2 separate regions of the Homo sapiens genome follow, and region 2 is linked to region 1. Evidence: promoter capture Hi-C in human tissues and cell types (Jung and others, 2019). All regions are on one chromosome and are shown on one strand. Each heading gives the region's core, a stretch centred on a gene start or on the middle of the fragment in contact. The rest is flanking DNA. Distances are from core to core; before and after follow the strand shown. Region 1 holds the start of PDE8B (phosphodiesterase 8B). Region 2 overlaps PDE8B (phosphodiesterase 8B).

Region 1 (5,881 bases), core at 340-2,839:
AAGGCTGTGATTCTATCTGACATTAGGAGTATTTTTTTCTCTCTGTACAATAGGATATGCCATTGTTATCTTGTTTGCTGAAAGGAAAAAAGACCCAGTGCCCAGATTTACACAATGAAAAGCCTCTTGGATTTAACGGTACTTTGAGAACATACGGGAGGACACTATTTAAATAATTATTTTTCTTCTGTCTTTAAGAAATAAATATTTAGCGACTGCTTTAACCATCTAAACAATTTTTTCCACTTCCTCAAAATCCCACTCTCTGGGAAGATCAGTTGTATGTGCAGAATCATCCTCAGACAGCTGTACTGCACTGGAAACCACGTCCCCTCACGGTGGCTCTGCTGACACTCCGAACTCATGGCCCGGTTCTCTCAATTCTGTCTAGGATGCAGCCAACCCAGAGAAACGTTACAGTGACAAACAACAGGTTCCACTCTGCTCCGTTCCCACATCTCTTAAAACACGAACACTCATTCATTCACAAATCCCTACGCTCGGTTCCTGTGCTGAGACTCCAGCCTGGCTGGTAATCCCAGGTAAAAATCGGAATATGGGGCACTATCTATCCTGGTGCTGCAACTGCACCAGTCACCTACAAGGCACGCAAATCCAGCTCAGTGCTCAGATTTCATTCAACAGGACTGGCCACCGAATGCTCTCAATGGTCCCCACCCCTCTTCCTGCATAAACCAAGCCACAGCCTTCCTGCCCTCAAGGAGGAACAGGCCAGCCCACCTGCTTCCTTCTGCGCTCCCTTCCCCGCCCAGTCCCCCAGGACCAGCTAAGGACGCTTCCAGGACCCCTCCAGGGGCCTTTTTCTGACCACATTTCCTGGGCTCCCATCATCTCCACAAATGAAAAGTAAACTCCTCCTTAGTGACAACCTCTCCAAACCAACCGCCTCACGGTCACCCAACTCCGCCGGAGCCCCCTACCCGTGCGAGCCCCGCCGACGGGGCGGACGGCCCCCACGGCGTGTGCCAGCGCGGGGCATTTACCTTCACGCTGGTGTAGCAGGTCTGAGTCTCGGCCTCGGCGCTGCTGCAGCAGTGGCGCCTCCGGCCCCTGCTGGTGGTCGCGGCGGGGGCTGCGGAACCCGCGCTGCTACCGCTGCCCAGCTCGGTGCGGGCCCTGCGGACGCGGGCTACGCTGGGGGGTCCCGACGCGCGGCTCGGGGGGATGGCGTCGGCGGCGTCGGTCTGGACGAAGAGGCCGGGCAGGGGTGCCGCCGGGCCCTGCGACACGCTGGTGGTCTGGCGGGGCGAGCTGGACTCGTCCGAGTCCCGGCAGTAGATCACGCCGCTCTGCGAGACATGGATGCTGGGGGCGCAGCCCATCCCTCGGCCGGGCTCCCCCGCGCGCCCGCCCGCGCCCGCGGCCGCCGGGACCCAGCGCACCCGCTGCCACCTGCAGTGAGGGGGCGGCCGCGGCGGCGCCCGGACTGCGCGCCCCCCGGCCTGTGTGTCCGCCGCTCCGTCGGGCTGGCCGCGGTGCCCCCCGCCGAGCCTCCGGGGACCGCGCGCGTCACCCCAACTTTCCCTTTTGGGCCATCTTCCTCCCCGAGCGGGGGAGCGCGCATACACAGCGCCCCGCGCGCACCAGCGGCCGCCACCCTCCCCGCCGCGGCGCCCCAAACACGCTCCCCGCGCCTCCGCCTTCCCCTCCTCCCTCGGCGCGGCCCCCGCCGCCGCCCAGCTCGACCTCGCCGGGCTCCCGCACCCGCGGCCCTGGGCCAGGGCGCCCGCCCGCCTGCCCGCCTGCCTGCACCTTCTTTCCCCACTTTCGGTCTGCGCCCGTCCCCTCCCTCCCTCGCTCCCACCCTCCTTCCTCCTCAGGTGCCCCGGCTCCGCGGCCGCAGCCGCCCGGGCCCCACTGCGCCCCTCCGCCCCTCCCGCCGCTCCCGGAGCTCTCCCGACAGGGCAGAGCGTGCCCGCGGCTCGGCTCCGCCGCGGGGCCCCTGTGCGCGGCAGCTGGCACCGCGCCTCGGCGCCCTCCCCTCCTCCTCCGCTGTCCAGAGGCCTCGTCTCTTCTGCACTCATCCCGACGCCGCCCCCAGCGCCCCAGCCCCTCTTCCCCTGAAGGGCTGTGTAAGCCTCTCGCTTTTCACCAACACATTTTCACACATCCCAGAGCTAAACACCAGGAGGCCCCTCCCGAAATGGCAGGGGCCCTACAGCCCAGGCCCACCCACCGCATTTGCTTGCCTCTCAACACACCCGGGAAGTGATGGAGAGACCTCATGGTTCCGTCCTCTTCCCCCAGCCCCACCGCCTACTCCGAAGGCTGAGTTGGATGGTGACCCAGTCTTCAGAAGAAGCCCATTCCATGTCTACTCATCGTTTGGAAGTTTGTGCCAAGGGATGGGAGGCCCTGCGGAGGAAGGCACCCTTGAACACATACGTTCCCCTAAGATCCAAGGCAAGAACAGAAAGAAGCTGTCTGATGGTTCTTGGCTTTCTCCCCCATTTTCACCTCTTCCTTAGGTGTCACTAAATGTTCATGCTGGTTTCTATCCCGTCCAGCCGCCCATGTCAACTGCTGTTCCTCACACTCTGGGCTGGGCAGTCAACAAGGCCTTCCCTCATTCTCCTTGGTGAGGCATGCACAGACTGAGCTGTGCTGGAGGAGAGGAAGAATGCCTTTAGAAGGATGGCTGCTGTTCATCCTTCCCTTGTAAACTCTGAGTTACAGCTGCGAGACACCACTGCCCATTCAGTCACTGGTTCCCGCAGTAATTCCTGCCCGATTTTCACAATGGCACGGGGAGATAAATTAGATGGTCTAAGAAAGGATTTTATCTAGAGTTGCTTATACGGACAAGGGCAGTAACATAGAGGCTTAATGCAAGGCACAAAGAAGTATCCAATTTTAAGGTTTGTTTTTTGTTTTTTTTTCATTCTTATTTTCCTTTTTCTTCCTGGACCACTCTTGGATGTGACTGGATGAAGACTTCAAAAGACAGTTTCTAAATTTCATAGAGAAGCAAGATATCATTCCCAATCCCAAATTCAGTTATACAGGGAGAGTCTAACCTTATTCTTCTACCTTTGCTTCTCTTCTCAGTTTAGCTCTCTTTTTTTGATACAAAAAAACTCCATCTCCAGCTAACCTGGAAAAAGTCTATGCTGTATTTTTTAATGGACAGGCAAATTGCTCATAAAATTTCTGCACAGGTTGGGTCCTCCTAGAAGCAGATTCTGAGATGGTGTTTAGCAGGCAGAGGGAGGCTTTTTAGGAAGTGCTCTTGTAGTCAACATTTGTGGGAGGAAATAAAGGGAGGGAATGGAGGGAGGCAAGCTTGAGCAGAGGGAGAAATTGACCAAGCCTCAGGCATCCCTGCAGGGAGGATTCTGAAGGTGGGATGATGCTTCAGAGTTGTTCTGAGTTGGGGCTGGGTTCTGAGTTGTTCTGGTGGGCCTTTATACCCCAGCATGGACCAGTCTTTACATGCAGGCCACCTCAGCGACCTTGGGCAAGGTGGCTCTCTTCAGCTGAGGCACTGCCCCTAGGAGATGTCAGCTGAGCCAAGGGCTTTCTGCTGGCAGCACTCCCAGTAGCTGGAGGAGTAAGTCCTTTCCTGGCATCATAGCCTCCACCCACAGTTCCCTTCCAGGCTGCTGAGATCCATGTTTCCTTGTCCCATCCATGCCTGTAAGAACACCACATTAAATGGCTGAGACTGAGATATGGGGACAGTCATTCATTTAAAACTAAGCCTCATAGCAACCATCTGCTCTACTTCCAAAGGACAATTTAGGACCTGGGAAAACAACATCAGAGTTAAATTGCAAAAACACTAGTCTCTATACTAGTCCCTGATGTAACGTTCAAGTCAGGGTTTAATGATTCCTAAAGCTTACCTGTGATAATGCATATAGCATTTCAGTCATTACCTTTCATGGAGCTATCAATGACAGCCTTCACATACTGAAATTTACAGCCATGCATATTCTCATGACACATGTCTACTTTTTCAGAGTTTTCTCTAGGAATGCAATGAAACCACCCAGAAAAAAGCACCAGTCACTCACTGAGGCTTTGAAAGGCAAGAAGACTGTGATGAAACAGAAATTACAACCAATCTTCTGGTGGAGAACATTAGGAGCTGAATCATGAAGCTAGAAGTCACCCAGAAACAAATTTAGGTTGAACTTTCTACATTAAAAAATAAGAATAATTAAGCCTTGAAAGAGTAGGTGACCTCAAGGTAGCTAGTGAATAGGACTAGGCTGCTTTAGTGGGTTAACTGAACAGTTCATATTAGGACCAGTGACTTTCATTGACTGCAACTTCTTTGTTGGAATAGAAGATAGAAGGGGAAATGCACTAGGTATACAGTTTTCTTCCCATTCCCAGAGCAGACAGTAGCTCAAACACATCTTCAACTGCCAATTCTGGCTTAGTGAAAGAAAAAAATAATGTGTCCTTATAATCTCCACCAAGTGTTCTCAGTGGGAATGTGCAACCTGCCCCCATTGCTGGAACAGATCTGGCTGCTGAAACTTGCAGAAGTGTGCAAGTGGAGGGGAAATGGTTTAACTGAAATCATTTCCACAGCTTAGTTCTGAAGCCTGAGTTCTGACCCACAGAAGAGATTTCTGAACCAATTGCCACTGACCACTTCAATGCATCCCAGGTGACAGCAAAGACTACAAGCTCAGACACTGTTGATAAAAATTAGGCCTAAGTTACAGAATAAGGCCAGAAAGACCAACATTATTAAAAAAATAATTAAGTGGAGAAAAATTTAGCAACAGAAAATATCCAAGAAGCAAATCAAAAGAAAGTAAACTAAATCAGAAACATATTGTAAAACAAAACCTCCAATATGTCCAGGGTCACCTGAATGGCTTGTGTGTTTTATAATAGTATTAAATAAGAGCTAACTGTAAAATTATGGCCCACAGGCACTGCAAGATCCTGAACAAATAAGGTCCCTTCCAATTCTAAGATGGCATGACTCTTCAGAATTCCTCTAGAGAAGCAGAAAATGTGATTAATACATTTTGAATGATTCTTAGCTGTAAAGGTTAAAACAATAGCAGCTATCTGATTGATTTTTAGATAACCAAATATTTAATCAACCAATCAACCTTACAGAGCTTCTGGATTCAAACTGTGTTCCTAATGGTGGAGCTATTGGAAATCTAACCAACTGATAAGTGAAATGATACCGTTTATTAGGCAGTCCAGTACAGTGGAAGGTACATTGAATTCAGGGTTAGACGAGTGAATCTGAAACCGAGTTCTGCCTCTTGTGGCTGTGTAACCTTGAGCAAGTCACTTAACCTTTGGGCTTCAATTTCCTAGATGATCTCCAGAGTCTCTAAATCACCAACATTCGAGAATGCTGTGAAATTTTTGCTTCATTTTATTAAATTATTTTATATTTAGAATTGTGGGACTTTTGAACAGAAAGAGTAGTCCTGAATCCACGTGCACAACAGAACCACCCTGAAATACAACAGTTCCCTGGTTCCATCCCAGAGACTTTCTTCAGGGGTTAAGGACAGGTCCAGCATCTGTCCTTTCAAAGAAAGTGAATCTAGTATAACCTTTCCACAGCCTCCTTGAAGTTTAAGTCCTTATAAGTGCCTCGAAGACCCTACCCGACGTGGATCCTGGCGACCTTGCTGAGCCCACCCTCACTGCTCCAGCCGCACCAGCCTCCTCATTGTCTCTCCAGGATATCCAACATTGTTAGCCAGTAGCTGTTCCCTCTGCCTGTTGTGCAGCTTCATCAGTACTTGCAAGGCTAACTTCCTCACCTCCTTCAAGTCTCTGCTCAAACGTTTCCTACTCAGTGATGCCTATTCCCAACCCGTGTTTGAAATTGCAACCCACATAGCTCTATTGTTCCTCTACCACTCCTGAT
Region 2 (5,749 bases), core at 1,804-4,303, 61 kb before region 1:
GACATTGAAATATCCTGTATTTTCCCATCTGTTTTTCCTCAGTGAACACTGTGCCTTTACTAGTTATTTGAGGAGGGTTATCAATAGGCTATTTGATGAGATCAATAAAGCACATTAATCTTCTAAATTTATACTTAATTGGAAATCTGTAGGTCTCAGAATACCAAGGTACTATTTGTGCCTCCATTTGTCCCCCACATGTAGCTAGGCCAGGTTGGCCATCACTGCATGTCCAGGAGCTAGCATAGCACCTGGGACATGTCAGATGCTCAATAACTACTTGTGGAATGAATGAATATGTCAGTGGAATGAATGAATATGTCAGTCTTATGAATGGGTCCGCAGGAAGGCAGCAGGAAGCAGTGGAAAGCTTTGGAATCAGATAGATCTGTGTTGGATTTCCAGCCCTGCCGCAGATGACCTGTGTGGCCTTGAGCAAAATGATTAACTTCCTGAACCTCAGCTTATTTACCTCTATAATGCAAATAATAATACCTCCCTACCTCATAGGGATTTTTTGAGGATTAATTGAGATAATATATATGTACCTAAACATTTGCATTCATTAAACAGCAGTTCCTCCTTTTTATAGATACTTAAATTTTAGTCTAAAGATAGAACTAGCTGGGCAAGATGGTTCACGCCTGTAATCCCATCACGTTGGGAGGCCGAGGCAGGCAGATCACCTGAGGTCGGGAGTTCGAGACCAGCCTGACCAACATGGAGAAACTTTGTCTCTACTAAAAATACAAAATTAGCCGGGCATAGTGGCGCATGTCTGTAATCCTAGCTACTCGGGAGGCTGAGGCAGGAGAATTGCTTGAACTCAAGAGGCGGAGGTTGCAGTGAGCAAAGATCATGCCATTGCACTCCAGCCTGGGCAACAAGAATGAAACTCCATCTCAAAAAAAAATAAAAAATAAAAAATAAATAAAAAAAAAACAGATGGAACTACCTGGAAGTTCTCTCTTTTCACCATTGTGTTAATAAAAATCAAACTTTATTTTTTATATACTATTTTGTCCACCTCAAATGGCTTTTGCCCTATTTCTTCCTGTCAAACCCAGACAAAATCTCAAGGTCAAGTTGAACCACTGCCTTTGCCTCAAAGCTTTTATCCTGTACTCCTGTCCCCAGGCAAAAGCAAGTTATTCTTCCTCAGTAAGTGTACTACCCTGCCTCTCTTACAGCATCTCACATTGTTGTGTTTAAAGTCATCTCTACCTATCATATCTCCCCTCCTAGCCTGTCAGCTTCCTGAAGGACAAGGGCGATTGCTAGTTCATAACTGCATCTCTCAAAAGCATTTTCTATAGTGCTTTCTGGGTAATAGATGTTTAGTAAATTTTAAAAAACCAAATTAATAAACGATCATATTTTCCCATAGGAAAAATAATATAATAGGCTATTACCTGCCTGTTCAAGAAATTGATTTGAAATAAATTACAGATAGAATTGATAGGATAGAAGCAAAGTGTCAATAACTATAAAAAACGATACAATGTTAAAATTAGGCTTCAGATTCTATAGAAAGTACATAAATGGGAGCTACGTACACTGCAGTGATGACAAGGGCTTCAGTGCAGCACAGAGACACACTAATAAGCTAAAACACAAGTCTGCCACATCATAAATTTGTCCTAACTCTTATAATCAGCTATAATGAATACAAAGCTTTCTTAAAAGAAGAATGATTTGGATAAGCAAGTTTCTTTAAATTCATGTCTTGTCTTCTTTCTCCTCCGTCTTGTAACTGACGTCGTAGCAATTAGGCCCATTCAAAATCATTCTATGCATAGGTATATCAAAACATCACTTTCTCTCCTTAAATATACACAATAAAAATACATTAAAAAATAATGAACTTTCTACTGCCTCTCTCTTGCCTTCTCACCCTCCCTTCCCAGCACAGAAACCTCCTAGTTGACCACTTCCATATGGCTCTTGCTAGGACCTTCGGTTATTTTTGCCCCCTTTATACTATGCTGCCCTCTGAACCATGTGTTCTACTCTTAACTGTTTTTATTCCTACTTCTGGGCTAATAATAGAAGCTAGTGCTTATTGAGCACTTACTATGTGCCAGGTACCATGCTAAGTCCTTTAAAGATCACATACCAGCCACAGCCTTCCAGGGTGGCAAGCAGTAGCTCAGAGAAGATAGCTCCAAACCAGACTGCAGCTGGAGGTGGTCAAGGAAGGCTTTCTGGAAGAGGCAGCTCTCAAATGGAGGTTTTAAAGGACAAGTCAGACAAAGAAGAAATAAAAGGAACCATATGTACAAAGGGCACTGATTGTGAAATAACAGGACATGTTCGAGGCACCACAAATCCTTTGATAACAGATCAGCCAGCTGTGGTTTGACCCTCCCAAGAGAATGGATAGCTAAGAATATTAGAACAACCAGAGTCAACCAAGGTTACTTGGCTGTTCTCTCTGCAAAGTACAATGATATCAACTTAAATGAAGTCATTACCAGTTTAGCCATAACCTGTGAACTAATAGATATCATAACCTTCTAGAAGCTCTCTCTTAATACATTCCATCACATTCCCATGATTTGCTGTTCCCCTCTACCCTCAAGCCTCTGCCCTCGGCATGCTCCAATAACCTTACCCTAAGCAGGGAGCCAAGCCAACATCTAACACTTCAAGGAGAACAAGGGGCAGAAGTTTAGACCAGGGTTTCCAGACCTAAACATATGTAAACATCGCAGGTCTGTTTCAGTTGGTCTGAGGATGTGGCTGAGAGTTGACATTTCTAATGGGCTCCCAGGTGGTACTGTTCCGAGGACCACACTTTGAGAAGTAAGACTCTGGTAGAGCAGATTCTGCAAGTTGCACTGACTACATTCACATCCCTCCCCAACATGTACCACCTGAAGAACCTGTTATAAGCCTCGGTTTTCTCATCCGTAGAATGTGAAGTGGCTGCTGTGGAAATCAGATGAGAATGTATAAGGACTATCCAGCATCTAGTCAACTTTCAAGAAACAGTGGCTCCCATTGTTGAACAACTTTGGGGATGTCCAGCCAGAGCTCCCTCTGTGTCTTCCCTTTCACTTCCTTCCATCTGTTATTGATTCCACTTCTTCTGGCCTCCTCCTGGGCCATGACCTGTTGATTATTCCCTATTTTACTAATGTTTCCAATACTCCTCTTCTCTGCCTTAAAAAAAAGTTCTTCACATCAAAAAACAAATAAATAAACTTCCCCAGTGACCTTCAGTCACTACCTTCTTCATTCCACAGTTCAACCTGAAATTTGAAAGGTATCAGCCTTGGCTGTCCCATCTACACCCCTATCCCCAACTCCTTAACCATTTGTCATCTAGATTCCACTCCCACAAAGCTAGGGAACTACTTTCTCAAGATCACGTACCAGCCACAGCCTTCCAGGGTGGCAAGTAGTAGCTCAGAGAAGATAGCTCCAAACCAGACTTCAGCTGGAGGTGGTCAAGGAAGGCTTTCTGGAAGAGGCAGCTCTCAAATGGAGGTTTTAAAGGACAAGTAAGACAAAGAAGAAAGAAAAGGAACCATATGTACCATTGATCCTGGAATAGGGAGATCTTATGGTCTTTTATAAACTGCCATTCTTCTTTACTTCTTGATATTAGTGACTCATCACCATAGTGACCTGGGAAGAGGCATGAGAAGGGTGGGGCCTAGCCACTGCGATGCAGTTATAGCACATCCCCTTGGGAGCTTAGCCAGTGTCCCCCACAATGCCATCATTGCATGGATTCCATAAATGGGGTTACCCCCAGAGCTGCCTTAATTCCTGAGTGAACAATGAGGGGTGAGCCTAGGATCTACACTGGAAAGGGTATTGTTTTCAGGAGATTTTTGGCTTTCTGTGTGACTCCGGAGTCCTCCTAACTCCCACCCGGCTGGTAAGATAAGCCTGGTCAGGAGCTGGAGCAGCTTCCAGAGAAAGTCTGGGCTAGGATTCTCCCAGCCCTGCTGCTTCTTCCCAGAAGGAAGTGGTATCTCTGGTTAGCTCTTCCTTCTGCCAAAGCAGTGTTCCATATTAAGAGTGTGGGGCCAAGGTTTAATAACAAGAGCCCGGAAAAATCACTATCTTCTGTGCACACATGCCCCCTAGGTATCTTGTTGAACAGAGTGGACAATTACAAGCAAGATCCAGAAGCTTCAGGGTCCCTCAGCCAAATACCATCAACATGTCACCCCACCTCTTAAGATGTAGCTCCAGTGCTAAGGGCACAAAGCAGAGGCAGAAGTGAACGGTAAGAGGGAATATGGGGAATTACCAGCTAGAGCAACCAGACAAGAGAAAGAAATAAAAGGCATCCAAATTGAAAAGGAAGTAGTCAAATTATTCTTGTTTGCAGATGATATGGTCTTATACTTGGAAAAACCTAAAGATTTCACCAAAAAACTATTAGAATGGATAAACATATTCAGTAAAGTTACAGGATACAAAATCAACGTACAAAAATCAGTAGCATTTCTGTATGCAAACAGTGGACAGTGTAAAAATCAAAAAGTAATCCCATTTAAAATAGCTACAAATAAAATACATAGGAATTAACAAAATAAGTGAAAGATCTCTACAATTAAAACTGTAAAACACTGATGAAAGAAATTGAAGAGGATACTAAGAATTGAAAAGATATTCCATGTCCATGGATTATAAGAATTAATACTGTTAAGACGTCCATACTACCCAAAGCAATCTACAGATTCAATGCAATCCCTAGCAAAATACCAACAACATTCTTCACAGAAATAGAGAAAAAAATCCTAAAATTTAAGTGGAATCACAAAAGACCCAGAATAGCCAAAGTTATCCTGAACAAAAAGAACAAAACTGGAGGAATCCCATTACCTGACTTCAGATCATACTCCAGAGCTATAGTAACCAAAACAGCATGGTACTGGCATAAAAACGGACACATAGAGCAATGGAACAGAATAGAGAACCCAAAAATAAATCCATACATCTACAGTAAACTCATTTTCAACAAAGGTGCCAAGAATATATATTGAAGAAAGGACAATCTCTTTAATGGGTGCTAGGAAAACTGGATATCCATATACAGAAGAATGGAACTAGAACCCTATCTCTCACCATATACAAAAATCAAATCAAAATGGATTAAAGGCTTAAATCTAAGACCTCAAACTATGAAACCGTTAAAAGAAAACACTGGGGAAACTCTCCAGAACATTGGACTGGGCAAAGATTTCTTGAGTAATACCCCACAAGCACAGGCAACAAAGCAAGAATGGATAAATGGGATCATATCAAGTTAAAAAGCTTCTGCACAGCAAAGGAAACAATCAACAAAGTGAAGAGACAACCCACGGAATGGGAGAAAATATTTGCAAACTAACCATCTGACAAGAGCGTAATAACCAAAATATATAAGGAGCTCAAACAACTCTATAGGAAAAATCTAATAATCCCATTTAAAATGGGCAAAAGACCTGAATAGACAGTTCTCAAAAAAGAAATACAAATGGCAAACAGGTATATAAAAAGATGCTCAACATCATTGATCACCAGAGAAATGCAAATGAAAACTACAATGAGATATCATCTCACCCCAGTTAAAATGGCTTTAATCCAAAAGACAGGCAACAACAAATGCTGGCGAGGATGTGGCGGAAAGGGAACCCTCGTACACTGTTGGTGGGAATGTAAATTATTACAGTACAACCACTATGAAGGACAGTTTGGAGGTTTCTCAAAAAACTAAAAATAGAGCTACCATATGATCCAGCAATCC

The links. Contacts are between HindIII fragments. The study calls those that stand out against the background at their distance.
Region 2: a fragment that was not itself captured here is called in contact with the fragment with the promoter of PDE8B in region 1 in 2 of the 25 tissues and cell types used here (hippocampus and mesenchymal stem cells).

Annotation. Positions count from the first base shown.
Region 1 is chr5:77,206,388-77,212,268 of GRCh38, reverse strand. It overlaps PDE8B (phosphodiesterase 8B), which reads right to left and starts at 1,589. Exons shown (of 22, transcript NM_003719.5): 1 at 1,005-1,589. The coding sequence starts at 1,343. The HindIII fragment of the contact is 4,534 bases long and covers 1-3,582 here.
Region 2 is chr5:77,268,995-77,274,743 of GRCh38, reverse strand. All of the region lies in intron 1 of PDE8B (phosphodiesterase 8B), which reads right to left. Among named protein-coding and RNA genes, the nearest start is that of PDE8B, 61 kb to the right of the region's middle. The HindIII fragment of the contact is 3,319 bases long and covers 1,394-4,712 here.